Linked DNA regions of Homo sapiens: regions 1, 2, 3, 4, 5 and 6 are each linked to region 7. Evidence: promoter capture Hi-C in 16 types of primary human blood cells and fetal thymus (Javierre and others, 2016). All regions are on one chromosome and are shown on one strand. Each heading gives the region's core, a stretch centred on a gene start or on the middle of the fragment in contact. The rest is flanking DNA. Distances are from core to core; before and after follow the strand shown.

Region 1 (3,828 bases), core at 253-2,752, 520 kb after region 7:
GCAAACCAAAGAGGTGAAGCTTCCAGGCCTTTGACCCCACCAGGAACGGCTACCCTCTCGCCCACTCAACAGGTTGATTGAACACCTACTATGTGCTAGGTAGGCCTTGTGCTAGGAGATGCATCAGTGCATAAAAATCCCTGCTTTCATTGGCAGGGAACAGACATAAACAAACAAGATCATGCCAGTCTTGATTATACCAAAAAGATGAAATGGGGCATTTTAATAAAGTAACTTGCGGAATAGATAAGGTGGTTGGGGAAGACCTCCTGGAGCTGAGACCTCGATGATGAGAAGGAGCTGGGGAAAGAGGCTTCTAGAAGGAGGAAAGGGCTAGTGCAAATGCTCTGAGGTTGTAATCAGCTTAGTATTTGGGGATGAGCCAAGAGGCCAGGGAAGGTGGAGGCTGGGGGTGGGTGAAGGGAATGGGGGTGATGAGGCTGCAGAGGTGCAAAGGGTTCTTCCTTCCCAGCCCCCAGCATGGTAGGCTGCGCTGAGGACTGAGGCCCGGGCTTGGCTTCCCTCCTGCTTATGATGGGAAGGTGGGGGAGCAGGGGAGTGGGGAGTGATGTGATCTGATTTATGGTTTGGAAGGATTGCTTTGGCTGCGGCAAGCAGCCGGGATTGGAGGGGCTCAGGAGGAAGGAGGGGGAGGGCGAGACTGCAGTGGTCCAGGCTGAAATGAGGTGGCTTGCTGAATGCTCAGAGCTCCTTGAGCACACAACCTAGCGTCTGTCGATTTCACCTCCTGGAGAAACCTTCCCTGACTGCTCCGCCAGACTCCTCACCCTCTCCCATCTCCAGCCCCCTCATCCCCGGAGCTATCTGGCTGCTGGTCTGCAAGCAGCTGGAGTCCCCAGCATCACCCAGCCCACAGCCTGGCCTGCAGGAGGCTTCTAGTAAAGTGGCCAATTAATCCCCGAGCCCCGTCTTCCAGGGTCATGCACACAGTCACACGCGTGCTCTTCACATGTGTCACCCTGCCCCCACACACACTCACTTGGATCTCCAGACAAGGGCTTGGAGGGTAGGATGGGCAATCTAGGGGGCAGGAGGGGCCCTGGAGTCTCCTCCATTGAGTGTGCAGGCGATGGTGGCCACAGGGTAATAACAACCTCAGCGAGACCCTGAGGTCTGCCCCTCCTTAGGAATGGCCAGGCAGGGAAGAAGGGAGCAGTGCTCGGTCCCAGCATCCCACCACTGCCGAGATGGTTCTGAGCGGGTTCCTGGGCTGAGGCCGGGGCCTGTGTTTTCCAAGATTCCTTGGAGAGCCAGCTCCATCCTCTTCCTGATTATCTGATCTTTGGGCTACAGCAGAAGGAAAGAGCAGGGCGGAAGCGAGCTCTGGAAAGTGGAAAGAGGAGGGTGTGCGAGGAGACCCAAGGCGGGATCTAGGCTTTGGAACGTTGGAGGTTTCCGGCCACAGAGGCAGGGCCTCCGGGGAGCCAAGAGGGGCGGGGAGAGACACACACAGAGAAGCAGAGGAGACCAACGGACCGGACAGAGACGAGGAGAGGAACAGGAAGAGAGAAGCTGGGAGAATCGGGAACCTGGGGGCTAGTGACCTGCACACAGGGCAGGGGCACTCGGCAGTTCCCAGAGGCCACCCCTCCCACCCCAGACATCCAGACATCTGGAACTTTGGGTGCCAAGAGTCCAGCTTAATGCAGGCAGCCTGGCTTTTGGGGGCTTTGGTGGTCCCCCAGCTCTTGGGCTTTGGCCATGGGGCTCGGGGAGCAGAGAGGGAGTGGGAGGGAGGCTGGGGAGGTGCCCAGGAGGAGGAGCGGGAGAGGGAGGCCCTGATGCTGAAGGTGAGCTCTGGAGTGTCAGGGAGCTATGGGTGGTGAACTGTGGGTCTGGGAGGGGGTATTGCAAGGTTAGGGAAATGGACAATGAGGAGCGATTGGGATAGTCTCAGAGGAGTGGGAGGGTGATGGGCTCAGAGACAGGACTCAGGCAGCAGAGAATGAGTTATGAGTTGGAAAGGGGTGAATGGGGCATCTTGGTGGCAGGCTGGGGCTCACCACCCCTCCCCTGCCCCAGCATCTGCAGGAAGCCCTAGGACTGCCTGCTGGGAGGGGGGATGAGAATCCTGCCGGAACTGTTGAGGGAAAAGAGGACTGGGAGATGGAGGAGGACCAGGGGGAGGAAGAGGAGGAGGAAGCAACGCCAACCCCATCCTCCGGCCCCAGCCCCTCTCCCACCCCTGAGGACATCGTCACTTACATCCGTGAGTAACCAGAAGCCCTCACCCCCAAACTCCTAGGCCGCCGCGGTCACTTTCGCAAAAATGAAGGGTCGGTTCACTGCCAAGTGGCCTTTCAGTTGTCCATTGCCCAGCCCAGAGCCCCCACACCCCTAGGAGCCCCAGGTCCACGGCCATGCCTCCTAAAGGCCTGGGCCACTCGACCCTACCTTCCAGGAGTCCGGGGTGCCCCCCCCACCGCCACCCCGCCCTCAGGAGCCCTAGATCCCAGTTCTCCAGGTCCTCAGGCCCCCCGCTGCATCTCCAGGCTCCCCCTCCAGCATGATCCCTGTCTGTCCGCAGTGGGCCGCCTGGCCGGCCTGGACGCAGGCCTGCACCAGCTGCACGTCCGTCTGCACGCGTTGGACACCCGCGTGGTCGAGCTGACCCAGGGGCTGCGGCAGCTGCGGAACGCGGCAGGCGACACCCGCGATGCCGTGCAAGCCCTGCAGGAGGCGCAGGGTCGCGCCGAGCGCGAGCACGGCCGCTTGGAGGGTGAGTCCGCGGCGCGCGGGGTGGAAAAAAATGAGACTATCTGGGCCAGGAATGGGACTGGTTGAGAAGGTGACCCTAGGTGTCCGGGGCGGGAGAGTTCGGGAGAGCTGCTGTGTGCTAGCGGACGGGGTTAGAGAGCTGGGAGGCTGAATGCAGGGAGCGGGTGGGCACTCCAGACCCGCGCGGACCCGACTGGGGCAGCACCACGCCCCCTACAGTCCAGCTCCCACCGCCTGGCCCCGCCCCTGGCGGACCAGACTCTCCACCTCCTGGCTCCCGCGGTTCTGACCACGCCTCCTCCCAGCCCTCCCCATGAGTTCCTGGCCCCGCCTCCCTCCACCCCCGGATGTTTTGTCCTCGCCCCCTTCCAGACTCTGAATGCATGACCCCGCCTCCTTCTCTACCCGGCCCCGCCCACAGGCTGCCTGAAGGGGCTGCGCCTGGGCCACAAGTGCTTCCTGCTCTCGCGCGACTTCGAAGCTCAGGCGGCGGCGCAGGCGCGGTGCACGGCGCGGGGCGGGAGCCTGGCGCAGCCGGCAGACCGCCAGCAGATGGAGGCGCTCACTCGGTACCTGCGCGCGGCGCTCGCTCCCTACAACTGGCCCGTGTGGCTGGGCGTGCACGATCGGCGCGCCGAGGGCCTCTACCTCTTCGAAAACGGCCAGCGCGTGTCCTTCTTCGCCTGGCATCGCTCACCCCGCCCCGAGCTCGGCGCCCAGCCCAGCGCCTCGCCGCATCCGCTCAGCCCGGACCAGCCCAACGGTGGCACGCTCGAGAACTGCGTGGCGCAGGCCTCTGACGACGGCTCCTGGTGGGACCACGACTGCCAGCGGCGTCTCTACTACGTCTGCGAGTTCCCCTTCTAGCGGGGCCGGTACCCCGCCTCCCTGCCCATCCCACCACCCGGCCTTTCCCTGCGCCGTGCCCACCCTCCTCCGGAATCTCCCTTCCCTTCCTGGCCACGAATGGCAGCGTCCTCCCCGACCCCCAGTCTGGGCGCTTCTGGGAGGGCTCTTGCGGTGCCGGCACTCCTCCTTGTTAGTGTCTTTCCTTGAAGGGGCGGGCACCAGGCTAGGTCCGGTGCCAAT
Region 2 (4,113 bases), core at 563-3,062, 650 kb after region 7:
CAGCCTCCTGAGTTGCTGGGATTACAGGCATGCAGCACCATGCCCAGCTAATTTTTGTATTTTTAGTAGAGATGGGGTTTCACCAATGTTTGCCAGGCTGGCCTCGAACTCCTGACCTGGTGATCCACCTGCCTCAGCCTCCCAAAGTGCTGGGATTACAGGCGTCAGCCACCGCGCCCAGCCACTTTTGTCAAATTCTTGAGACACAGCTCGGGCTGGATCAAGTGAGCTACTCTGGTTTTATTGAACAGCTGAAATAACCAACTTTTTGGAAATTGATGAAATCTTACGGAGTTAACAGTGGAGGTACCAGGGCTCTTAAGAGTTCCCGATTCTCTTCTGAGACTACAAATTGTGATTTTGCATGCCACCTTAATCTTTTTTTTTTTTTTTTTAAATCGAGGTTTCAGTCTCATTCTATTTCCCAGGCTGGAGTTCAATGGCGTGATCACAGCTCACTGTAGCCTTGAACTCCTGGCCTTAAGAGATTCTCCTGCTTCGGTCTCCCAATAGCTAAGACTACAGTAGTCCACCACCATATCCAGATAATTTTTAAATTTTTTGGGGGGCCGGGCACAGTGGCTCACGCCTGTAATCCCAACACCATGGGAGGCTGAGATGGGTGGATCACGAGGTCAGGAGTTTGAGACCAGCCTGACCAACATGGTGAAACTCTGTCTCTACTAAAAAAAAAAAAAATAGAAAAATTAGCCGGGCGTGGTGGCACACGGCACCTGTAATCCCAGCTACTGAGGAGGCTGAGGCAGGAGAATCACTTGAACCCAGAAGGCAGAGGTTGCAATGAGCCGAGATTGCGCCACTGCACTCCAGCCTGGGTGACAGAGTGAGACTCTGTCTCAAAAAAAAAAAATTTTTTTTTTTTTTTTGTAGAGATGGATCTTGCTTTGTTTCTCTGGTTGGCCTTGAACTCCTGGCTTCAAGTGATCCTCCTACCTTGGCCTCGGAAAGTGTTGGGATTACAGGCGTGAGCCACCATGACTGACCTGTCGTTTAATCTTGAGGTACATAAACCTGGCTCCTAAAGGCTAAATATTTTGTTGGAGAAGGGGCATTGGATTTTGCATGAGGATGATTCTGACCTGGGAGGGCAGGTCAGCAGGCATCTCTGTTGCACAGATAGAGTGCACAGGTCTGGAGAACAAGGAGTGGGGGGTTATTGGAATTCCACATTGTTTGCTGCACGTTGGATTTTGAAATGCTAGGGAACTTTGGGAGACTCATATTTCTGGGCTAGAGGATCTGTGGACCACAAGATCTTTTTATGATGACAGTAGCAATGTATCTGTGGAGCTGGATTCTGGGTTGGGAGTGCAAGGAAAAGAATGTACTAAATGCCAAGACATCTATTTCAGGAGCATGAGGAATAAAAGTTCTAGTTTCTGGTCTCAGAGTGGTGCAGGGATCAGGGAGTCTCACAATCTCCTGAGTGCTGGTGTCTTAGGGCACACTGGGTCTTGGAGTGCAAAGGATCTAGGCACGTGAGGCTTTGTATGAAGAATCGGGGATCGTACCCACCCCCTGTTTCTGTTTCATCCTGGGCGTGTCTCCTCTGCCTTTGTCCCCTAGATGAAGTCTCCATGAGCTACAGGGCCTGGTGCATCCAGGGTGATCTAGTAATTGCAGAACAGCAAGTGCTAGCTCTCCCTCCCCTTCCACAGCTCTGGGTGTGGGAGGGGGTTGTCCAGCCTCCAGCAGCATGGGGAGGGCCTTGGTCAGCCTCTGGGTGCCAGCAGGGCAGGGGCGGAGTCCTGGGGAATGAAGGTTTTATAGGGCTCCTGGGGGAGGCTCCCCAGCCCCAAGCTTACCACCTGCACCCGGAGAGCTGTGTCACCATGTGGGTCCCGGTTGTCTTCCTCACCCTGTCCGTGACGTGGATTGGTGAGAGGGGCCATGGTTGGGGGGATGCAGGAGAGGGAGCCAGCCCTGACTGTCAAGCTGAGGCTCTTTCCCCCCCAACCCAGCACCCCAGCCCAGACAGGGAGCTGGGCTCTTTTCTGTCTCTCCCAGCCCCACTCCAAGCCCATACCCCCAGCCCCTCCATATTGCAACAGTCCTCACTCCCACACCAGGTCCCCGCTCCCTCCCACTTACCCCAGAACTTTCTCCCCATTGCCCAGCCAGCTCCCTGCTCCCAGCTGCTTTACTAAAGGGGAAGTTCCTGGGCATCTCCGTGTTTCTCTTTGTGGGGCTCAAAACCTCCAAGGACCTCTCTCAATGCCATTGGTTCCTTGGACCGTATCACTGGTCCACCTCCTGAGCCCCTCAATCCTATCACAGTCTACTGACTTTTCCCATTCAGCTGTGAGTGCCCAACCCTATCCCAGAGACCTTGATGCTTGGCCTCCCAATCTTGCCCTAGGATACCCAGATGCCAACCAGACACCTCCTTCTTCCTAGCCAGGCTATCTGGCCTGAGACAACAAATGGGTCCCTCAGTCTGGCAATGGGACTCTGAGAACTCCTCATTCCCTGACTCTTAGCCCCAGACTCTTCATTCAGTGGCCCACATTTTCCTTAGGAAAAACATGAGCATCCCCAGCCACAACTGCCAGCTCTCTGATTCCCCAAATCTGCATCCTTTTCAAAACCTAAAAACAAAAAGAAAAACAAATAAAACAAAACCAACTCAGACCAGAACTGTTTTCTCAACCTGGGACTTCCTAAACTTTCCAAAACCTTCCTCTTCCAGCAACTGAACCTCGCCATAAGGCACTTATCCCTGGTTCCTAGCACCGCTTATCCCCTCAGAATCCACAACTTGTACCAAGTTTCCCTTCTCCCAGTCCAAGACCCCAAATCACCACAAAGGACCCAATCCCCAGACTCAAGATATGGTCTGGGCGCTGTCTTGTGTCTCCTACCCTGATCCCTGGGTTCAACTCTGCTCCCAGAGCATGAAGCCTCTCCACCAGCACCAGCCACCAACCTGCAAACCTAGGGAAGATTGACAGAATTCCCAGCCTTTCCCAGCTCCCCCTGCCCATGTCCCAGGACTCCCAGCCTTGGTTCTCTGCCCCCGTGTCTTTTCAAACCCACATCCTAAATCCATCTCCTATCCGAGTCCCCCAGTTCCTCCTGTCAACCCTGATTCCCCTGATCTAGCACCCCCTCTGCAGGTGCTGCACCCCTCATCCTGTCTCGGATTGTGGGAGGCTGGGAGTGCGAGAAGCATTCCCAACCCTGGCAGGTGCTTGTGGCCTCTCGTGGCAGGGCAGTCTGCGGCGGTGTTCTGGTGCACCCCCAGTGGGTCCTCACAGCTGCCCACTGCATCAGGAAGTGAGTAGGGGCCTGGGGTCTGGGGAGCAGGTGTCTGTGTCCCAGAGGAATAACAGCTGGGCATTTTCCCCAGGATAACCTCTAAGGCCAGCCTTGGGACTGGGGGAGAGAGGGAAAGTTCTGGTTCAGGTCACATGGGGAGGCAGGGTTGGGGCTGGACCACCCTCCCCATGGCTGCCTGGGTCTCCATCTGTGTTCCTCTATGTCTCTTTGTGTCGCTTTCATTATGTCTCTTGGTAACTGGCTTCGGTTGTGTCTCTCCGTGTGACTATTTTGTTCTCTCTCTCCCTCTCTTCTCTGTCTTCAGTCTCCATATCTCCCCCTCTCTCTGTCCTTCTCTGGTCCCTCTCTAGCCAGTGTGTCTCACCCTGTATCTCTCTGCCAGGCTCTGTCTCTCGGTCTCTGTCTCACCTGTGCCTTCTCCCTACTGAGCACACGCATGGGATGGGCCTGGGGGGACCCTGAGAAAAGGAAGGGCTTTGGCTGGGCGCGGTGGCTCACACCTGTAATCCCAGCACTTTGGGAGGCCAAGGCAGGTAGATCACCTGAGGTCAGGAGTTCGAGACCAGCCTGGCCAACTGGTGAAACCCCATCTCTACTAAAAATACAAAAAATTAGCCAGGCGTGGTGGCGCATGCCTGTAGTCCCAGCTACTCAGGAGGCTGAGGGAGGAGAATTGCTTGAACCTGGGAGGTGGAGGTTGCAGTGAGCCGAGACCGTGCCACTGCACTCCAGCCTGGGTGACAGAGTGAGACTCCGCCTCAAAAAAAAAAAAAAAAAAAAAGAAAAGAAAAGAAAAGAAAAGGAAGTGTTTTA
Region 3 (4,297 bases), core at 1,106-3,605, 800 kb after region 7:
GGAAGAGGTGACCAGGGCCCAGGTTTCCTGGGTTCAAGAAGGAGAAAAAGGCCAGGGGCGGTGGCTCATGCTTGTAATCCCAGCACTTTGGTAGGCCGAGGCGGGCAGATCACTTGAGGTCAGGAGTTCGAGACCAGCCTGGTCAACATGGCGAAACCCTGTCTCTACAACAAATACAAAAATTAGCTCGCGTGGTGGCGGGTGCCTGTAATCCCAGCTACTCGGGAGGCTGAGGTTCGAGAATCGCTTAAACCCAGGAGGCAGAGATTGTAGTGAGCTGAGATTGTGCCACTGCACTCCAGCCTGGGCGATTGAGTGAAACTGTGTCCCCCTGCAAAAAAAAAAAAAAAAAAAAAAAAAAAAAAAAAAAAAAAAAGGAGGGAGGTGGGGGAGAAGGTGCTTAGGAGCCTGTTTTCCTGGGCCTCTGAGAAGTCCAAATATCCCAAGTGTGTTAAGATTATATAAAATCCTATACAACCAAAGGTCCCATAGGGTAGTGCTCTCCGCCATACAGGATGGGCTTTTCTGGCCCTGCTTAACAATCTGCTAGTTGGTTCTTTCTCTCACCACTCTTGTTAGTAGTCAGATCTTCGAGGCTTCTCATATGACTCCTGCTTGTGAATCTCAACATCATGATCACTTTCCCTTCTTTGTCTCCCTCTGGGGGACCAAGCTTTGCCAATAGCTTGGGTTCCACTGGGCCAACCAGCTCCTCCTCTCCCTCCCATTAGTGGACAAGCCCACTACCTCGGGGACTGGTGACAGTGCCCCAGCCTGAGACGGTGCACTTCTGGCCAGGCTGGGTGCAATGATCTGCCAGGCTGATGGGCTTCACTTTGGACCCCAGGGATGCCTGGTCACGCAGTTGAAGAAGCATCAGATCATGGTTGTGGTCCTCCACATCGCTGCTGTTGTAGCAGGGGTGTGGGATGGACTGAACCACAGGTATTTCTTGCTCTGGGCCATCTTTATTCTGTAGGCTGTGGTCTCCCAGGCGTACTGTGTATTTCCTGTAATGGTGGGGATAGTTTGGGACCCAGGCAGGGGTATTGCCCCCAGCCCCCTCCTCCTTCAGACCCAGGAGTCCAGTCCTCAGCTCTCTCCTTCCTGAGTCGAAACCCCAGCCCCCTCTTTCCTTAAGCCCCAGCTGACCTCTGCCCCCATCATCCACTCACGGTTTTTTACAGTGGGCAGCTGTAAGGACCCAGTTGCCACCTACAAGGACACCGCCACAGAGTAGTTGCTGGCCCTGGAACAAGGCCGCCTGCCAAGGCTGCGAATGGGGTTGGCACTCATGACCCCCCAGCACCTTGTCCTCCTGTGCCCTGGAGTGTCCTGCAGCAGGAGGGAGAGGGTTGGATCGCCACCCTCTGGGGCAGTGCGAGGGCTGGGAAGGCCACTGTGGGTTCAAATGGACACACGGCAAGTTCTCCGCATACAACTTAGTGAGGAGGTCCAGGCTTCCACACGCTGCCACACGGGGACACTCATTTCAGTCCATGTGTCATCATACAAGAGTCACACACCCAAGAATGCCCCCACATGCTTCCACATGAGTCTACAGGCCCCGAGTACTCCCAGGTGAATCTATGCCCCCAAGCAAGCAGCCCCCAAAGGCTGTAGCTATTCAGACAATTTACAGCATCACGGAACCTACTCCTACCTGCTGCTACCTGTTTCTTGCCTCTGTCCACCCTGAGGAAAGCCCACAGAGGCTCCTGCACCGTATCGCACTCTTCACATCCGTGCACACGCACCCACATAACCCCCGCGGCATTCCCACAGACTCCCCAGCGCCACTGCTGCCTTCAGATCCCTCCCCTCCGGAGGCCTCCGCAACCCTCCTCACCTGCCCAGGCTCCCCCCAGCAAGAGCAGGAACATCCACGTCTTGGCCGCACGAGGTCGGGGGCGTCCCATGGTGAGGTCTGGGAAATGGAGAGGGCGGGGCCGGTAAACAGGAAGGAGGAGCCTGAGCTCCCAGTTCTGGATTTGGGCACTGGGGAGGCAGCCGAGAGTATCTGGGGCTGTTCTGGGCTTCTCTGGAGGAAGGAGGAGGCTGGGGGACTGGATTCCTACATTCCAAGGGAGGGGGGAGTCCTCGATGTCTGGGTCTGAGGGGACAGGGAGCTGGGAGCTGGGACTCCTAAATTAGGGAGAGGAGGAAGCCGGGGTCCAGACTGCTGGATCTCGACAGAGAAGGGCATCTGAGGCTGGGGTCCTGGAATCTGGAGAAGGAGGGTCCGGGGCCTGATGTCTGTATCTGAGTACCTCTGCACCTCACCTTCCAGAATCCAGGGGCGGGGTCACCTACTGATTCGGACCCAGTGGAGGAGGCCCCAGTACTTCAGTTCTCTGCCTGGTACACGATTCTGGAGCCTTTTAACTGGGAATCTCCACCTCCTGCTCCTCCTCCTTCTCCTCCTGCACTAGAGCCTGGGGAGCTTCTGGGAACTGGAACACTGGGTGTGAGTGAGAAGGGGCGGAGGGGATTGAACGTGAAATCTTGAGGGAGGAGGGGCTGGAATCTCAGACTCCTGAGGCTAGGGAGAGGAGGGACTCGGTGCTGAGACTCTACGATCTGAAACATAAAGGGCTGGGGGCCAAGATTTTAGTTCTGAGAGGGGAGGAGGCTGGGGGCCTGGATTCCTGGGTCTGAGGGAGGAGAGGCTGGGGGCCTGGACTCCTAAATCTAAGGGAGGAGGGACTGGGACCTGGGATTTAGGTCTGACCGAGGAGGGGCTGGGGGCCCAGACTCCTGGGTCTGAGGGAGGAGGGGGCTGCTAGGGGCCAGGACTCCTGGGTCTGAGGGAGGAGGGGCTAGGGGCCTGGATTCCTGGGTGTGAGGGAGGAGAGAGCTGGGGGCTGAATTCTAAGTACTTTTAAAAGGAGAAGCTTGGAACCTGATCTTTTGTGGGAGGAGGGGGCTGCTGCCAGTAACCGGGAACCGAAGAAAGGCAGGTCTTCTAGGGTCAGAAACCAGAGGGTGGATCAGGCCCCGCCCGCTGTCCCCTGAGAGGTCCGGGATCTGGGAGGGCAGGTTTGGGAGGCACTGTGACCTGGTTTCCCCTTCCCCTGGAGGCGGCAAGACCAACCCAAGCAGAACCCAGGAGTCTTGCTGCAATAGGGCTGATGGACAGAGACTTTAGGCAAAACTTACTAGGGGTTTAAGGGGGAGTTGCAAGGCGGTACCGGTTCCCTCATCTGCCCTTCACCGCCCACCCGTTTGCTCTCCACTCATCTCACAGCTCAGGCAGAAAGAAGGTGAGGTTTCCCGCGTTTACTGAAAAATCATCCGTTGCATTGGCTCTAAAGGTATCCAGACCCTCCCTCAATTTCCCCCCAGGTCTCCGCCAGGATTCAAACCCAGCACACGCCCAGGACGGGGCCACAAGGGGCTGAGCTCTACACCGCCCGAGCTCCACGTGGGCGGAGCTACTGCGCCCCTGACATCACGAGGGGCGAGATCTCTGGTGAAGGAGGCGGGGCCACAAGGGGTGGAGTCCCGAGGGGAAGTCCCACTGGGCAAAGTTCCGAGGGGCGGAGCTATTTTGTGTAAGTGGTTCCTTGGGGCGGAGCCACAGGCTGTGCTGTTCCAAGAAGGAGGTGATGGCTGTCGGTGACGTCATAGAGACGGGCTCTGAAGGGCGTGTCCCTGCTCCGTTCCGAGGGGGCGCGACTGTGTCTTGCTTGACCTCGTGAGGGGGCGGAGCCTCAGGGGCGGAGTCTTAGTGTCCAGAGGGGAGTCAGGGCAGCTGGAGGTCCAGGGCGGGAACCATTGAGGCTGGGACCCTACGAGAACCCCCTACCCCGTGCCCTTCGGCCTCTCTTGGTCTTCCAAGGTGCCCCCGTGGCGCGCGGGCTCAGTTCTCCATGATTTCTTGGATCCAGTCAAGGTAGTGGCATACGCTGGTGTAGACTGCGGGGCGCCGGGGTCTGGAGCAGGGCTCAGCACCCCCAGACACCACGCCTGCCAAGGTTCCATTGCAAACCAGGGGGCCCCCAGAGTCACCCTGTACGCGAGAGAAGGGCAGAGGAACTGTTAGGCCACTCTGTTCATGACAATTACACGGGCCACTTCCTCCCTCCCAGAAAGGCCCCAGCCCCTTCCTCCTCCAACATCCGAGAGTCCTCCATCTCCAGCCTCTTCTTCCTCAGACCCAGGAGTAAAAGCTCAGAGGGCCCACCTCCCCGCAGGACCTAACCTCCTCCTCCCCGAGGACTCAGACTCTGGACGCCCAGCCCACTCCTCCTGTAGATCCAGAAGTCTGGACCTCCAGACCTTTTCTCTTTTACAC
Region 4 (3,846 bases), core at 774-3,273, 820 kb after region 7:
ATTCCCAGCCCCCCACCCCGGCACCGCCCCAGCCCCCGCACCCACGGCTTGAGGCAGTGGGCTGCTGTCAGGAGCCATCTGGGGGCGATGAGCGTCGCCCCACAGAGTAGCCGCGTCTTCTCGAACAGGGCTGCCTGCCAGGGCTGGGAGTGAGGCTTGCACTCGAACCCCTTGATGATCCTGGTCTCTCCCCCTACAAGCCCTGGAGGGGGTGAGAGCAAAAGAAGGGGCTCAGGAAGGAGAGGTGGTAGACCAGGAGGACTCCCAGAAATGGGGGTGGGGAGGAGAGAAAGAGAGTGGGTGGTCTGGGCCCTGGTCTGGTGTCCCTCTGGGTTGCCCTGGATGCTGGGGTCGGGTATTAAAGGATGAAAATACTTCCATAAGGTCAAATGCAGTGGCTCATGCCTGTAATCCCAGCACTTTGAGAGGCTAAGGTGGGAGGATTACTTGAGCCCAGGAGTTCTAGATCAGCCTAGGCAAACATAGTGAGACCTCCTCCCCCATCTCTACAAACAATTAAACAATTAGCCTGGCTTGGTGGCAGGTGCCTGTGGTCCCAGCTACCGGGGAAGCTGAGATGGCTTAAGGATCACTTAAGCCCGGGAAGTCAAGACTGCAGTGAGCCGTGTTGGCACCACGGCACTCCAGCCTGGACAATAGAGCAAGACTTTGTCTCTGGGAAAAAAAAAAAAGGAAATACTTCCATACTGGTTGGTCAGTAGCCCCTGTCCTGGGCGCTTTGAGTGACTGCTCCCCCAACTCCAGCTTCCTCAGCCCCTCCACGGGACCCTTTACGACCCCCTTGACCTCTCCTCCTTTGGCATTTAAAGGGATTATCTAGAAGGGCATCCAGGCCCTCATGACCACTGCTCCAGTTCAGGTGCCTTATGGGTTGTTCTGTAATTTGGAATCAGCCCTGTCACTGTCCAGACACAGAGGGTTAGGGGATCCCAGAGATTCAAGAGGGAGGATCCTGCCCTGCCCCCATCCCCTGCGTACCTGTTGCCAGAGCAAGCAGGATTAACTGCAGAATCCTCATGGCCTGGAGGGGGGAGGAGCGGGCCCCAGGTTCCTCTGGGAACAAGGAGGGACATGGGGCCGCATCACTTTACGGGGAAATCGGGAGGGGGGGGCTGGCTCATGCCCTCTCCTCTCTCCCTCACCTGCTCCCGCTCCCCACTTGGGAGAAACAAGGTTGGGGAAATCCCCTGTTTCTCACAGCACTCAGATCTCCAAACACTTAAAATATATCTTAGGTGTCTAGGGTGGCCTTGGAGAGGGCCTGGTCACAGCTAGAAGCTTCCGAGATACCAAGAACCATGTGGAAGTCGTTGGGAGGGGCTTTGAGCTGTCAAGCCATGGTTCGGCCCTGTTCAAGTCAGCCATGGGACCTCCCCGGCACATGTCAGAGGATGTTTTCCTTCTTGCCTTGAGAGCTGGCCAGGCCCCAGCAGCTTGGGGTGGAAGGACAAGGGGAACCAGACACCGTTCCGTAGCCACCCCTTTTTCATTGTCTTCGCAGCAGAGCGATATGGAGCCTTTGAGGTCTGCTGGAGGGGAGTAGGGGGCTCAGCCCCAGACAATGTCTGGGACCCCCATCACCCGGCTTGCTGAAGCCCTGTCCGCCAAACCCCTGCCCTTTTGAAGGACAGCCAAGCAAAGCTGGGCGGGGCTGGTCGAGGGGAGGGCCAGTGCCCTCCGCTGCCCTGGCCAGCGGGGGTGGGAGCAGAGGGCCAGCTCAGCAGCTGAAGCCATGGAGATTAGAGGTAACTGAGGCTGCGGACAGCCATCGGAGGTGAGAGGTGTAGAGAGAGGCCAGGAACCCCCACCCAAGCAGAGAAGGACAGAGCAGAGGGAGAAATGGGTGCCCGAGTGGGACAGGTGTCCTTGGGGAGGGCTGACACCTGGACGGGGAGGGGCAGCTTCCCTTTCCTCCTGGACTCACAGGCTCTGGGGCTGGGGCTCTGGGGGCCCAGTGGCGGCGGAGACGGCAGTGGCGGCAGCTACAGCAGGTAGGCTGGGTTGGAGCGCCAGGTGCCAGGCACCAGGCAGGCGGGCTGGCAGGGGGGCGGCCCTGGGCGGGCCCAGGATGACTGGCCTCCAAGCCCTGCCTTAATGCCCCGGGGCGGGGTGTGTGTGAGGGCCCTCCCCGGAGGCCTCTGAGGCACTGGCTGCCTGCCTGTGCCACCTCTCCAAGCCCCTCTTCTCCCTGTGTCTCAGCCTCCCTCTGTCTGTCTGTCTGTCTGCAGCCTTCCTTTCCCTGCCCTGAGTCTCTGAATCTGTGTCTCGTTCTATGTGTCATTCCCTGTCATTCAGTAATTCTGACTTTGTGTGATTTTTCTCTTTCTGTCCCTATGTGTCTGTCTGCCTTTCTCTGTCCTCGTCCCTGTCTCCATCTCCACTCTTCTCTCTCTGTCTGGCTCTGTGTGGCCCTTTCTCTAATTCCTTCTATCTTTGTGTCTCTCAGTCAGTCTCTCTGACTGCATCTCTGGCAATTTGTCTTGAAATCCCTCTTCTTCCATCTAATCTCCGTCTCTCTTTTTCCTCCCGTCCCAGCCACTCCCTCTCCACAGCCCCAGCCCAGGTGGGCCCCTGGCCTCCCCTAGGCCGCTCCCTTCTCCTTTGCAAGGAGAGGGGGGGTGTGCTGGGATGTCACACAGGTGGGGCTGCTGCCAGGCACAGGGGCAGGACCGGAGGGTGGGGGAGGCAGGTCAGGGCCTGTGGAAGCCGAGTCCAGGAAAGGGAACAGAGCCCTTGGCTGTGCTCCACCCCAGGGCTCCTCTGGGGCCTCGCTCCTCTGCTGACCCTTCCCCTGCCCGCTTCTCCCTGCCGCCCAGGCAGCCCGAGTCCAGCTGTTCACTTACTGGCTGCTGTGAGACCTCTGCCCGATGACTTCCAGTCCCGCAGCCACCTCAACCTCTGCATCTGCGGAACCCGAGCGCAGATTCCTGCTTCTCCCAGCTTGTTTGTTTTCAGTTAGGTCCCTTCCCTTGGCTTTCCTCCCCTCTCTCCCCTGACCAGGTGTGGAGCAAGGCAGGGGAGGGCCTAGGTTCTGACAGCAGCCAGCCCTGGCCTCAAACCTAGGTGCTTCCTCTTCCTACTACTATGACTACCCTTATGACGTGGGGACAAGGGACTCCACCCCTGCAAGGCTCAGTTTCTTCATCTGAGAGATGGGGGTGACAGACCTGCTTGCAGGGGAGGTTGGGATCAGGCTTCCAGGAGGGTCCACTTGGAAAGAGCAGACTGCGGGGGGGCTCAGCAAATGTGCCTCCGCTGGTATGATCACCCCTCACTCCCTCCCTCCTCCAGTTTCCCTTCAGTGCATTTGGGGAGATGGTCTCTCCTCACCTCTTGAGTCCCAGTGGAGACAGAATCCAAGGGGTGGGCAGGAGGATTAAAGACGTAGGCTGAGCTCTCCTGCTTTCCAAGCCTGCACTCCACCCTTCGTCTTATTAGAACAAAGCCACGTCCCACATTAAAGATACAATGTATGCTTCATTACAAGAAAGTAAACTGCAGTTGGCTAGTGGAAAGAATGCTACGTTTTATGGACATTGGATTAAATGGTCATAAATGTTGACTTTGCAGCTTTCATCTGGTATTTTGGAGCTAACAATTTTCTTTTTCTTTTTCGGGTCTTTTGTGGACTCTTGAAAAGCTTATAAGCTCTGGGCACTATTTCTATTATGCCAGATGAAGAAACATGTGTCTTATTTATATTGCTGGGTTTTTGTTTTTGAGACAAGGTCTCACTTTATTGCCCAGGCTGGAGTGCAGTGGCATGATCTCGGCTCTTTGCAGCCTCCACCTCCCCGGCTCGGGTGATCCTCCCACCTCAGCTTC
Region 5 (3,899 bases), core at 1,220-3,719, 670 kb after region 7:
GGGTGAAGGCACGGACTCCTGTGTGGTCAGAGCCCAGAGGGGGCCATGACGGGTGGGGAGGAGGCTGTGGACTGGCTCGAGAAGTGGGATGTGGTTGTGTTTGATCTCCTTTGGCCAGATAAAGTGCTGGATATAGCATTGAAAACGGAGTATGAAGACCAGTTAGAATGGAGGGTCAGGTTGGAGTTGAGTTACAGATGGGGTAAAATTCTGCTTCGGATGAGTTTGGGGATTGGCAATTTAAAGGTGGTTTGGGATGGCATGGCTTTGGGATGGAAATAGGTTTGTTTTTATGTTGGCTGGGAAGGGTGTGGGGATTGAATTGGGGATGAAGTAGGTTTAGTTTTGGAGATAGAATACATGGAGCTGGCTATTGCATGCGAGGATGTGCATTAGTTTGGTTTGATCTTTAAATGAAGGAGGCTATTAGGGTTGTCTTGAATTAGATTAAGTTGTGTTGGGTTGATGGGTTGGGCTTGTGGGTGATGTGGTTGGATTGGGCTGTGTTAAATTGGTTTGGGTCAGGTTTTGGTTGAGGTTATCATGGGGATGAGGATATGCTTGGGACACTGGATTCAGGTGGTTCTCATTCAAGCTGAGGCAAATTTCCTTTCAGACGGTCATTCCAGGGAACGAGTGGTTGTGTGGGGGAAATCAGGCCACTGGCTGTGAATATCCCTCTATCCTGGTCTTGAATTGTGATTATCTATGTCCACTTCTGTCTCCTTCACTGTACTTGGAATTGATCTGGTCATTCAGCTGGAAATGGGGGAAGATTTTGTCAAATTCTTGAGACACAGCTGGGTCTGGATCAGCGTAAGCTGCTCTGGTTTTATTGAACAGATGAAATCACATTTTTTTTTTCAAAATCAAAGAAATCTTATAGAGTTAACAGTGGACTCTTATAATAAGAGTTAACACCAGGACTCTTATTCTTGATTCTTTTCTGAGACACCAAAATGAGATTTCTCAATGCCACCCTAATTCTTTTTTTTTTTTTTTTTTTTTTTGAGACACAGTCTGGGTCTTTTGCTCTGTCACTCAGGCTGGAGCGCAGTGGTGTGATCATAGCTCACTGAACCCTTGACCTCCTGGACTTAAGGGATCCTCCTGCTTCAGCCTCCTGAGTAGATGGGGCTACAGGTGCTTGCCACCACACCTGGCTAATTAAATTTTTTTTTTTTTTTTGTAGAGAAAGGGTCTCACTTTGTTGCCCTGGCTGATCTTGAACTTCTGACTTCAAGTGATTCTTCAGCCTTGGACTCCCAAAGCACTGGGATTGCTGGCATGAGCCACTCACCGTGCCTGGCTTGCAGCTTAATCTTGGAGTGTATAAACCTGGCTCCTGATAGCTAGACATTTCAGTGAGAAGGAGGCATTGGATTTTGCATGAGGACAATTCTGACCTAGGAGGGCAGGTCAACAGGAATCCCCGCTGTACCTGTACGTTGTACAGGCATGGAGAATGAGGAGTGAGGAGCCACCGGAACCCCATATTGTTTAGTGGACATTGGATTTTGAAATAATAGGGAACTTGGTCTGGGAGAGTCATATTTCTGGATTGGACAATATGTGGTATCACAAGGTTTTATGATGAGGGAGAAATGTATGTGGGGAACCATTTTCTGAGTGTGGAAGTGCAAGAATCAGAGAGTACTGAATGCCAACGCTTCTATTTCAGGAACATGGTAAGTTGGAGGTCCAGCTTCTGGGCTCAGACGGGTATAGGGACCAGGAAGTCTCACAATCCGATCATTCTGATATTTCAGGGCATATTAGGTTTGGGGTGCAAAGGAAGTACTTGGGACTTAGGCACATGAGACTTTGTATTGAAAATCAATGATTGGGGCTGGCCGTGGTGGCTCACGCCTGTAATCTCATCACTTTGGGAGACCGAAGTGGGAGGATGGCTTGAGCCCAGGAGTTGGAGACCAGCCTAGGCAACATAGCCAGACCCTCTCTCTACAAAAAAATTAAAAATTAGCTGGATGTGGTGGTGCATGCTTGTGGTCTCAGCTATCCTGGAGGCTGAGACAGGAGAATCGGTTGAGTCTGGGAGTTCAAGGCTACAGGGAGCTGCGATCACGCCGCTGCACTCCAGCCTGGGAAACAGAGTGAGACTGTCTCAGAATTTTTTTAAAAAAGAATCAGTGATCATCCCAACCCCTGTTGCTGTTCATCCTGAGCCTGCCTTCTCTGGCTTTGTTCCCTAGATCACATCTCCATGATCCATAGGCCCTGCCCAATCTGACCTCACACCGTGGGAATGCCTCCAGACTGATCTAGTATGTGTGGAACAGCAAGTGCTGGCTCTCCCTCCCCTTCCACAGCTCTGGGTGTGGGAGGGGGTTGTCCAGCCTCCAGCAGCATGGGGAGGGCCTTGGTCAGCATCTAGGTGCCAACAGGGCAAGGGCGGGGTCCTGGAGAATGAAGGCTTTATAGGGCTCCTCAGGGAGGCCCCCCAGCCCCAAACTCACCACCTGGCCGTGGACACCTGTGTCAGCATGTGGGACCTGGTTCTCTCCATCGCCTTGTCTGTGGGGTGCACTGGTGAGATTGGGGGGATAAAGGAAGGGGGGCGGGTTCTGACTCTTATGCTGAAGCCCTTTTCCTCCCACCCAGTGCCCCAGCCTCGTCCCTTCAGCCCACAGTTCAGCCCAGACAATGTGCCCCTGACTCTTCCACATTGCAATAGTCCTCATGCCCACACTAGGTCCCCGCTCCCTCCCACTTACCTCAGACCTTTCTCTCCATTGCCCAGCCAAATCCCTGCTCCCAGCTGCTTTACTAAAGAGCAAGTTCCTGGGCATCTCTGTGTTTCTCTTTATGGGGTTCAAAACCTTTCAAGGACCTCTCTCCATGCCACTGGTTCCTTGGACCCTATCACTGGGCTGCCTCCTGAGCCCCTCAGTCCTACCACAGTCTACTGACTTTTCCTATTCAGCTGTGAGCATTCAACCCTGTCCCCTGGACCTTGACACCTGGCTCCCCAACCCTGTCCCAGGAAACCCAGATTCCACCAGACACTTCCTTCTTCCCCCCGAGGCTATCTGGCCTGAGACAACAAATGCTGCCTCCCACCCTGAGTCTGGCACTGGGACTTTCAGAACTCCTCCTTCCCTGACTCTTTGCCCCAGACCCGTCATTCAATGGCTAGCTTTTTCCATGGGAAAAACACGAGCACCCCCAACCACAACGGCCAGTTCTCTGATTCCCTAAATCCGCACCCTTTTCAAAACCTCAAAAACAAAACAAAACAAAACAAAGCAAGAAACAACTCAGGCAGAACTGTTTGCTTAACCTTGGACATGGTAAACCATCCAAAACCTTCCTCTCCCAGCAACTAAACCTCTCCACTGGGCACTTATCCTTGGTTTCTGGAACCTCTTATTCTCTTAGAACCCACAGCTGCCACCACAGTGTCCCTTCTCCCAGTGTAAGACCCCAAATCACTCCAAATGACCCAACCCCCAACCCGATGCCTGCTTCAGATGTTTCCCATGTCCCCTACTCTGATCTCTGGGGTCAGCTCCGTTCTCAGAGCATGAAGCCTCCCGACCTGGTCCAGCCACCAACCCGCTAACGCAGGGAATAGCTACAGAATTGCCAGCCCTCCCAGGACCCCTTGCTTGTGTCCTGGACTCCCAGTCCTGGTCCTCTGCCCCCATGTCTCTTCAAACCCACAGCTCAGCTCCCTCCCCTATCCAATTCTTTTGGGTCTGATCCCCCTGACCCAGCACCCCCTCCGCAGGTGCCGTGCCCCTCATCCAGTCTCGGATTGTGGGAGGCTGGGAGTGTGAGAAGCATTCCCAACCCTGGCAGGTGGCTGTGTACAGTCATGGATGGGCACACTGTGGGGGTGTCCTGGTGCACCCCCAGTGGGTGCTCACAGCTGCCCA
Region 6 (4,187 bases), core at 3-2,502, 770 kb after region 7:
GTCCAGTAACCCATGGTGAGATTCTGATTAGATCTTTCTACTTTCTTGGGCACTGATTTGCCTTCCTGTCGACAGGAGAGGGTTACCCTAGGGGGCCCTAGCGTTCTTCCTCTGTATGGGAGTTTTCCTCGGAGCCTGGCTCTGTGCGCAATGGCCACCCACCCCGCCCACCCGGCAGGTTCTGTGATGTCTGTGATCTCACCTGCTGCAGGCCTCCGGGCTCCGGGGATTCTTGAGTCGGGGGAAGGAACAGCTTTGAGACGAGGAGGCAGAAAGAGTTAGAAATGCGGGGAGCCGTGAGGAGAGAAGACACTCAGATGCAGTGGCAGAGCCAAGCGGAGGACGCAGGGGCCGCAGAGCCCAGGGCTGCAGGGACTGCCAGACACACACCCCCAGCTCCCAGGCCTCCCTGGAAGAGGCTGGTTCTGTCCCCAGATGCTTCTGGAACGTCCTTTTAACCCCTGTCTCTCAGGTCCCTGAGCCAGGAGACTGGCTACACCCTTTTCCTCCTTACCCAGGCCTCCCACACACATTCCTCCCGCCCCCACGCTCTGCTCTTGGTGACCCCTGACCAGGCCTCCAGGGAAGGGAGCACTGGTCCCTGAGTGCAGTGAGGGCCTGGACTCCTGGGTCTGAGGGAGGAGGGGCTTGGGGGCCTGGACTCCTGAGTCTGAGGGAGGAGGGGCTGGGGGCCTGGACCCTTGCGTCTGAGGGAGGAGGGGCTTGGGGCCTGGACTCCTGGGTCTGAGGGAGGAGGTGAGAACTTGGACTCCTGGGTCTGAGGGAGGAGGGGCTGGGGGCCTGGACTCCTGAGTCTGAGGGAGGAGGTGGGAACTTGGACTCCTGGGTCTGAGGGAGGAGGGGCTAGGACCTAAACTCCTGGGTCTGAGGGAGGAGGGGCTGGGGCCTGAATCTGAGGCAGAGGAAGTTCTAGTCGGCTCAGTCCTTAGACCTCCGGGTTTTGGAGAAAGAAAGTGTCTGAAGACAAATTCCGGCCTCTGGGGCAAGCAGATGGTGCCCCAGGCCTCCCTGCACCCCCAGCACTCTCTGTGCCACCCAGGGACCTGCAGGCCCTCACTCCGGGCTCTAGAGCCCTCCGGCACTGGGAAGCAGCCTGCCCAGGTTCAGTGCGGTTGGGGTGACTCACACACCTGCCCGTAGGTCCCTCTGTGTGCTGCCTGCCGACCTCTGTGTCCCCAGGAGAGAGCGAGCCAGCCAGCCGGGGAGACAGCTACAGCGTGTGTCACCACACTGGCCCCCGCCCCTGCCCCGGGCTGGGGAGCAGGCCCAGGCGCGATGGGGAAAGGGCCCAGGAACAATCGGGCTTTGTCCGCCCCCAGCACCCCAGTGCCATGCTCCCAGCAGCTCCGGCCTCAACCTCTCTTCCGGCGGGCAGGCGGGAGGGCGGTTACATCAATGGCTTCCTTTTGTCCCTGTCTGACAGTCCTCCTTTGCAGTCTCTGACTGCCCACCTGGCCCTGACTGGAGATTTCGGCACTCCACATCCTCCTGGTCCTTCTCCTCCAAGTCTGCCCACCCCTGAGGTCTCTTGCTCCATCTGTCTCCCTGGCCATGGAGGGGAGGGAGCTTCCATCTCTCTCTCTCTCCCATCTCAGTCTCTGTATTTGTGTCTCTCTCCCTCTTTTTTTCTCTCTCTCCCTTCCTCTCTCCCTTCCTCTCTCCCTTCCTCCCTTCCTTCCTTCCTTCTTTCTTTCCTTCCTTCTTTTCTTTCTTTCTTTCTTTTTTTTTGACGGAGTCTTGCTCTGTCACTCAGGCTGGAGTGCAGTGGTGTGATCTCAGTTCACTGCAACCTCCGCCTCCTGAGTTCAAGCAGTTCTCCTGCCTCAGCTTCCCAAGTAGCTGGGATTACAGGCACCCACCACCACGCCCGGCTAAATGTTTTTTGTATTTTTAGTAGGGAAGAGGTTTCACCATGTTGGCCAGGCTGGTCTCAAACTCCTGACCTCAGGTGATCCACCCACCTTGGCCTCCCAAAGTGCTGGATTACAGGTGTGAGCCACTGTGCCCGGCCTCTCTCCCTTTCTTTCCCCTTGATTCTCTGACTCTCCGTGCTTATCTTCTCCTGGGTCTCTTCTTAGATTTCCCCGGGGGTAGCACTGTGTGTGCCCAGAAGGGAGTCAGTTTCCCCAGGAAGTAGCGGGGATGATTCCCGAGCGATGAGGAAGCTAGCAGGATGGAAGAGGACTTGAGGACTTATTGATGAGATGCGGACACACAGCGAGAGGCATGGAGTTAAGCAGAAATCGGAGAGCACTTGGGAACGACGTGGGGCTGTGATAAGATGGTGGTGCTGGGCAGTAGCAGAGGGATCTGGGAAGATTTAGGGAGGTGTCTTTGAACTTGGGCCTAGAAAGCTGAGCCAGGCGTAGGTCAGGAGGAAAGGCCGTGAAAATGCCTGGCCTGGGTGCACATGGGAAACCACAGGCAGTGGTTGGGGTGGTTGGTATGGGCTGGAGGGTGAGGGTGTGTGCGTGGCAGAGTGGAGAGAAATGAGGAGGGGGAAGTCACTGCGTAATAAGGACAATGATAGGAATGAAGTCTGGCTCAGCACCTGCTTGGGCTGGGCACTACAGGTAACTTAAAAAAAAAAGTTCTTTTTTCTTTTGAGACAAGGTCTTGTTCTGTCGCCTAGGCTGGAGTGCAGTGGCACGATCCTTGCTCGTGGCAGCCTCAACCCTCCTGGGCTCAAGCGACCCTCCCGCCTCAGTCTTCCCAGGAGCTGGGACCATAGGCATGAGCCACTGTTCCCAGCCAACCCTTTTCTTTGTCTTGCATTGAATCTAATTGTCATCTTGCATTGTGCACCCCCCATCACTCCAGGGATGAAGACTACTTCGGTATTCAGTATACTCTCCGGGTGCTCCCTCTCACATTTGGTCCCCACTGACCTCAGCACCTTCTTCTCAGGACGTGCTATCTTCACAGACAGCAAGTCTGATGTTGCACAACCCAGTGACCAGGCCCTATCCCTCTGCCTCCTCTCTCTGGGGGGTCCCTTCCTCTCTGTACCCACACCCTCAACCCCAACTCAGAGCTGCACCTCTCCCACCTGGACCAGGATCCCTCTGTTCTCTGTATCCCTTGCCCCAGAGAGACCTTCCTGTGCCTTGTGCTGACCTTGCCCCTCCTCTCACAGACGTGCCCTGGGTCCCCATCTCCCTTGGGACCAAGTCCCAGCCCCCCAGCCTGGCATTTGAGGACCTTTAGCATCCAGGGAAGTCCTGGCCAATGAAATGTGATGCCAAGCACGCATGCACATTTACATTTTCCAATCACCATACTTTTTTTTTTAAGTCAGAAGATTTTTTAAGTGTCCTTACCACAAAAAATAAGGGTGTAAAATAATGCATATGTTAAATAGCTTGGTTTAGCCATTCCACAACATATACATACATATATCAAACATGATGTTATACACCAGAAATATATACAATTTTTACTTGTCAATTAAAAAATAAATTTAAGGCCAGGCATGGTGGCTCATGTCTGTAATCCCAGCACTTTGAGAGGCCAAGGTGGGTAGATAGCTTGAGTCCGGAAGTTCATGACCAGCCTGGGCAACATAGTGAGAAACCATCTCTGCAAAAAGTAAAAAAATTAGCCAGATGTGGTGGTGCACACTTGTAGTCCCAGCTACTCCGGAGGCTGAGGCGGGAGAATTGCTGAGCCTGGGAGGTCGAGCCTGCAGTGAGCTGTGACTATACCACTGCACCCCAGCCTGACATGGCTGGGCAAGGTGGCTCATGCCTGTAATCCAAGCACTTTGGGAGGCAGAGGTGGGAAGATCACTTGAGCCTAGGAGTTCGAGACCAGCCTGGACAATATAGTGAGACCCTATCTCTAAAAAAAAAAACAAAAAAAAGAAAAGAAAAAAATTACCTAGGTGTGGTGGCACACATCTGTGGTCCCAGCTATGCAGAAGGCTGAGGTGGGATAGTTGCTTGAGCCTGGAGGCCCAGGTTGCAGTAAGCCATAATCACGCCACTGCACTTCAGTGTGACAGAGCCAGACCCTGTCAAAAATTTTTTTAAAAGGAGTCCTGAGTGGTGAGTGGCCCTCACACTGCATGACACAGCTATGTCTACGTCTCCGTGTGGCTCCAGCTTTCTAGAACACATCAAGCTTCCCTGACCCATGCCATGCCCTCTGGCCTCTGGCCCTTCACT
Region 7 (3,791 bases), core at 1,036-3,535:
AGCACCCAACTCCAGCTTCTCTTGTCTCTTTTCTGCCCATCTCTTATCTCCCAACATTTCCTTTCATATTTCTTTGGCTTCTTGCTCGTACGCTAGACTTCGTATGTATATAGTTTCTCTCCTGCATGCTGTTTGTAGGACAATAAATGGCAATAGTCATGATAATCAGTATTTTCTTTTTCTTTTCTTTCTTTTTTTTTTGAGATGGAATCACTCTGCCACCCAGGCTGGAGTGCAGTGGTGCTATCTCCGCTCACTGCAACCTCCGCCTCCTGGGTTCCAGTGATTCTCCTGCCTCAGCCTCCCGAAAAGCTGGGATTACAGGCGTGGGCCACTATGCCTGGATAATTTTTGTATTTTTAGTAGAGACGGGGTTTCACCATGTTGGCCAGGCTGCTCTCGAACTCCTGACTTCAAGTGATCTGCCTGCCTCAGCTTCCCAAAGTGCTGGAATTAGAGGCGTGAGCCACCGCTCCTGGCCAGTACTTTCTTATTCAGCCTTTTCCCTGGTGCCAGGACTGTACTAAGAGCTTTGTAGGCACTAATTCACTTAATCCACTCAATACAAGCACTCATTACCATTTACTCAACAAACACTTATTAAACACCTACTGTGTGCCAGGCACTGAGGATTCGGCACTGAACAAAATAAAGATCTTTGTCCTCGTGGGACTTAAATTCTAGTGAGGAGACAGATGATAAACAGATAAATTAGCAAACACTCCCAGTGCTATGAGAAAAAGCAAAGCGGGGTTAAACGAGAGAGAGTGATGAGAGGAACTGTCTTATATAGGATGGCCAGGAAAGGCCTCTTGGAAGAGGTGATATTGGAGCAGAACGGATGATGTGGGAGAGAGGTTGTCATGCAAAACCTGGGGAAGAGCATTCCTGGTGGACCCAACAGAGAATGCAAAGGCCTTGGGGCAGCACCAGGCCTCCTGGTTTGAGAAATTGAGCCAGTGTAGCTGGAGCAGTATGAAGGGGAGGGCCTGGGGGTGAGATCAGAGAGAGCAAAAGGGCCAGCCACATCCCGCAGGACCTCATTGGCCATGGTGAGTTCTTAGACTTTTACTGAGTGAAATGGGAGCCATGGAAGGCTCTGAACAGAGGAAAGGCCCCATCTGAATAGAGTAGACTGTAGGGAGAGCAAGGGTGAAGGCAGACAGTCCATCACTCCCATTTTACGAGTGCAGAAATAAATGGAATCTCAAAAAAGTCCAGCAACTGGCCTGAGCCCACACAGCTGCTGAGCAGCCGAGCCAAGCTGGCAGGCCTCCTTGGGTTCAGTGGAGCCATTCCTTTGTGCCCTTGGCTCTTTTTATTTTCCTTTTAAATAGAGATGGGGCCTATGTTGCCCAGGCTGGTCTTGACCTCCTGGGCTCAAGTGATCCTCCCACCCTGGCCTCCCAAAGTGTTGGGATTACAGGTGTGAGCCACGGCACCCTTCCAACCTTGGGAAGTCTTTTGGCTCTCCTGAGCCTCAGTTTTCCCATCTGTAAATTGTAAATGGGGAATCATTACCACGTTTGGGCATAGCATGGCGGTTAAAAGCACAACTTCTGGTTGGATCTGAGTCCTTGCTCTGCCATCGGCCAGCTCTGTGACTTTCTGCAATTAACACCCTCTTTCTAAGCTTGGGGTTACCTCATCTAGAAGATGAAGATCTTAATAGCACCAATTTCAAGGGCTTCGTTGTAAGGATTAAATGAGATCATGCAGGTAAGGCGCTTAGCACAGCTCCCGGTCTACATCGAAGTGCTTGATAAACGATCATTGTTATTCCGATAGTATCACGGCCCACACCTCCCCGGTGGGTGAGAGCCTGGGAGGGTGCCTGGTACATGGTCTACGTTCGACAAAAGTGAATTCTGTCTCCTGTCTCTCCTGCCCGCCGGGTCCCGGGGGACCCAGGCATTCCGGCCTTCGGTCGGCCCCCCCACGCCGGCCCTTACAAAGGCCCCCATTCATGCCTTGCGCACAAAGCGGCCCATTCACCCTGGCCCCTTGGGCCTCCCGCCCCCGGCCGCCCCCCGCGCCTCGCTATTGGTGGCGCCCCGTGCCCATCAGGCCTCGGCTTCCACCCCCGACCGCGCCGCCTAGCTCCGCGCCCGGGCCGCGTTCTTTTCCCACGGCTGGCACCCTTCGACAACTTCTGATTGGCCCAGCCCGCCAGCCGCTCTTTTTGATTGGCGGCTCCCGTCCCCCAGGGGCGGGGCCGTAGCTTGCCGCAGCGGGCGCCGATTGGCCTCTGCTGCTCTCTTGGGGGCGGGGCTGTCCTGGCGGACACGCCCCTCTTTCTCCCCAGGCCGAAGCCTCGGGACGGCCCTGGAAGCCGGTGAGTGCCCGGGGCCGGCAGCCCTCCGGGGGCGGCGGAACGGGACTGAGCCAGGGGAAGCTGGAGCCTGGGGGCTGCGATCGGGGCCCGGGAGCCCGGGCAGGCGGCCGGGGACGGCGGGGAGGTGACGCGGACACTCACCTTGGGCGCGCAGCGGGACGGCGGCGAGGGAGGTGGGGGGGCGGGACGTCTACACTCCCCCAACTCCAGTTGCCGCCGTGTGCGAGGCCCGGTCGGGGTCCTCGTTGTCAGCCCCGGGCCTGTTCCGCAGAAGGGGAAACTGAGGCTGTCTTTGGAACCTCGGCCGCTTTAATACCTGAGTCATCGCCTCCAGTCCCCCGCCCCCAGCATGACATGTCTCTGTTCTCACGTGTCAGAATCGGAGGCCAGAGAGAGGGGTCGTGACTGGAAGAGGCGGAGGGGTAGGGAAGGACATATTTGAGAACCTATGATGTACTTGGACGCTTTTATTTTTTATAACTAAATAATTTCCTTTCCTTATCGTGTTGACTCGAGGTGAGTTATATTGTACCCATTATACAGAGAGGGGAAGGCTGAGACTGGGCCGAATTGGTGACTGCAGGGGGACCTGGTGGAGAAGAACACTCCAGAGACCAACTGTGTGCTGGGTCCTTTAACCTTTTCAGTCCCACAGGAGTCCCCTAAGGAAAGCGGTGGTCCCTGTGGCATAGATGGGGAAGCAGGTTGGTAGTAATCACCAACTGGGACGCAGAAATTCATGTCTTTAGGGACCTGCTACAAGTTCTTTCCAGACCCCCTCCTTTAGAATGGCAGAAAACGGTATAGGCTTGAATTCCAGACCTCCCTCTTACGCTGTGTGATCTTGAGTGCCTTACTTTGACCCTTCCTGCCTCAGTTTCCACATCAGAGAAATGGACATGCTGATCACCCCTATGTCATTGGTTGTTGAGGTTATTCTAGGCCGGGCGCAGTGGCTCAGGCCTGTAATCCCAGCACTTTGGGAGGTGGAAGCGAAAGAATCGCTTGAGCCCAGGAGTTCGAGACCAGCTTGGGCAACACAGCGAGACTTCGTCTCTACAAAAAGTAAAAGAGTTAGCCGGGCGTGGTGGCGTGACCCTGCTGTCCCAGCTACTCGGGAGGCTGAGCAGGGAGGATCGGTTGAGCCCAGGAGGTCAAGGCTGCAGTGAGCCATGATCGTGGCATTGCACTCCAAGCTGGGCAACAGAGAGAGACCCTGTCTCTCCCTCTTTTTTTTTTTTTAAATCATTTTATGATCTCAAAGAGCTGTTCTAAGAGGAGAAAATACCCGACACATAGTAGGTACTCTTATCACCATGTAGTCTTTATTTCACTCCCGAGACTGAAGCTCAGGACAGAATACCATTGTCCTCTTCTTTGGTACTCTTACTGTCTATAGATTTTGTTGTTCCCTTCCCGCAGTTGGGAAACTGAGGCTCAGGGAGATTAATGATGA

The links. Contacts are between HindIII fragments. The CHiCAGO score rates a contact against its expected background, and 5 or more counts as called.
Region 1: the fragment with the promoter of CLEC11A here is called in contact with the fragment with the promoter of MYH14 in region 7 in 7 of 17 cell types (total CD8 T cells, total B cells, naive B cells and 4 more); the score reaches 8.0 in total CD8 T cells.
Region 2: the fragment with the promoter of KLK3 here is called in contact with the fragment with the promoter of MYH14 in region 7 in 3 of 17 cell types (naive B cells, naive CD4 T cells and total B cells); the score reaches 6.2 in naive B cells.
Region 3: the fragment with the promoter of KLK8 here is called in contact with the fragment with the promoter of MYH14 in region 7 in 1 of 17 cell types (naive CD4 T cells); the score reaches 5.7 in naive CD4 T cells.
Region 4: the fragment with the promoter of KLK11 here is called in contact with the fragment with the promoter of MYH14 in region 7 in 10 of 17 cell types (total B cells, naive CD8 T cells, total CD8 T cells and 7 more); the score reaches 11.2 in total B cells.
Region 5: a contact is called between the fragment with the promoter of KLK2 here and the fragment with the promoter of MYH14 in region 7, in 10 of 17 cell types (naive CD8 T cells, total CD4 T cells, non-activated CD4 T cells and 7 more). The highest score is 12.7, in naive CD8 T cells.
Region 6: the fragment with the promoter of KLK6 here is called in contact with the fragment with the promoter of MYH14 in region 7 in 8 of 17 cell types (naive CD8 T cells, naive B cells, total CD4 T cells and 5 more); the score reaches 7.0 in naive CD8 T cells.

Annotation. Positions count from the first base shown.
Region 1 is chr19:50,721,862-50,725,689 of GRCh38, forward strand. It overlaps CLEC11A (C-type lectin domain containing 11A), which reads left to right and starts at 1,503. Exons shown (of 4, transcript NM_002975.3): 1 at 1,503-1,811; 2 at 2,044-2,230; 3 at 2,549-2,740; 4 at 3,161-3,828. The coding sequence starts at 1,665. The coding sequence ends at 3,606. RefSeq lists silencers at 2,852-2,971, 3,012-3,071. The HindIII fragment of the contact is 4,317 bases long and covers 18-3,828 here.
Region 2 is chr19:50,853,103-50,857,215 of GRCh38, forward strand. It overlaps KLK3 (kallikrein related peptidase 3), which reads left to right and starts at 1,813. Exons shown (of 5, transcript NM_001648.2): 1 at 1,813-1,899; 2 at 3,138-3,297. The coding sequence starts at 1,854. RefSeq lists promoters at 1-1,824, 1,191-1,850, 1,273-1,824, 1,489-1,824, enhancers at 1,412-1,446, 1,639-1,661 and cis regulatory regions at 1,655-1,779, 1,724-1,787. The HindIII fragment of the contact is 5,758 bases long and covers 1-1,819 here.
Region 3 is chr19:50,999,249-51,003,545 of GRCh38, forward strand. It overlaps KLK8 (kallikrein related peptidase 8), which reads right to left and starts at 2,356. Exons shown (of 6, transcript NM_007196.4): 1 at 2,284-2,356; 2 at 1,850-1,927; 3 at 1,176-1,335; 4 at 748-1,010. The coding sequence starts at 1,919. It overlaps KLK9 (kallikrein related peptidase 9), which reads right to left. Exons shown (of 5, transcript NM_012315.2): 5 at 3,260-4,012. The coding sequence ends at 3,863. The HindIII fragment of the contact is 2,221 bases long and covers 672-2,892 here.
Region 4 is chr19:51,024,593-51,028,438 of GRCh38, forward strand. It overlaps KLK11 (kallikrein related peptidase 11), which reads right to left and starts at 2,024. Exons shown (of 6, transcript NM_001136032.3): 1 at 1,946-2,024; 2 at 1,000-1,074; 3 at 46-202. The coding sequence starts at 1,039. RefSeq lists enhancers at 1,103-1,661, 1,662-2,219, 2,779-3,335. The HindIII fragment of the contact is 2,362 bases long and covers 1,298-3,659 here.
Region 5 is chr19:50,870,970-50,874,868 of GRCh38, forward strand. KLK2 (kallikrein related peptidase 2) reads left to right here and starts at 2,470. Exons shown (of 5, transcript NM_005551.5): 1 at 2,470-2,550; 2 at 3,752-3,899. The coding sequence starts at 2,505. RefSeq lists promoters at 1-2,495, 1,870-2,495, 2,142-2,495, an enhancer at 2,294-2,308 and a cis regulatory region at 2,294-2,308. The HindIII fragment of the contact is 10,018 bases long and covers 1-3,899 here.
Region 6 is chr19:50,968,339-50,972,525 of GRCh38, forward strand. KLK6 (kallikrein related peptidase 6) reads right to left here and starts at 1,253. Exons shown (of 7, transcript NM_002774.4): 1 at 1,152-1,253; 2 at 203-253. It overlaps LOC105372442 (a long non-coding RNA gene), which reads left to right. Exons shown (of 7, transcript XR_007067308.1): 4 at 1-15. The HindIII fragment of the contact is 4,765 bases long and covers 1-4,141 here.
Region 7 is chr19:50,201,337-50,205,127 of GRCh38, forward strand. MYH14 (myosin heavy chain 14) reads left to right here and starts at 2,286. Exons shown (of 43, transcript NM_001145809.2): 1 at 2,286-2,335. It overlaps LOC124904746 (a long non-coding RNA gene), which reads right to left and starts at 2,640. Exons shown (of 3, transcript XR_007067298.1): 1 at 2,477-2,640. The HindIII fragment of the contact is 8,559 bases long and covers 1,632-3,791 here.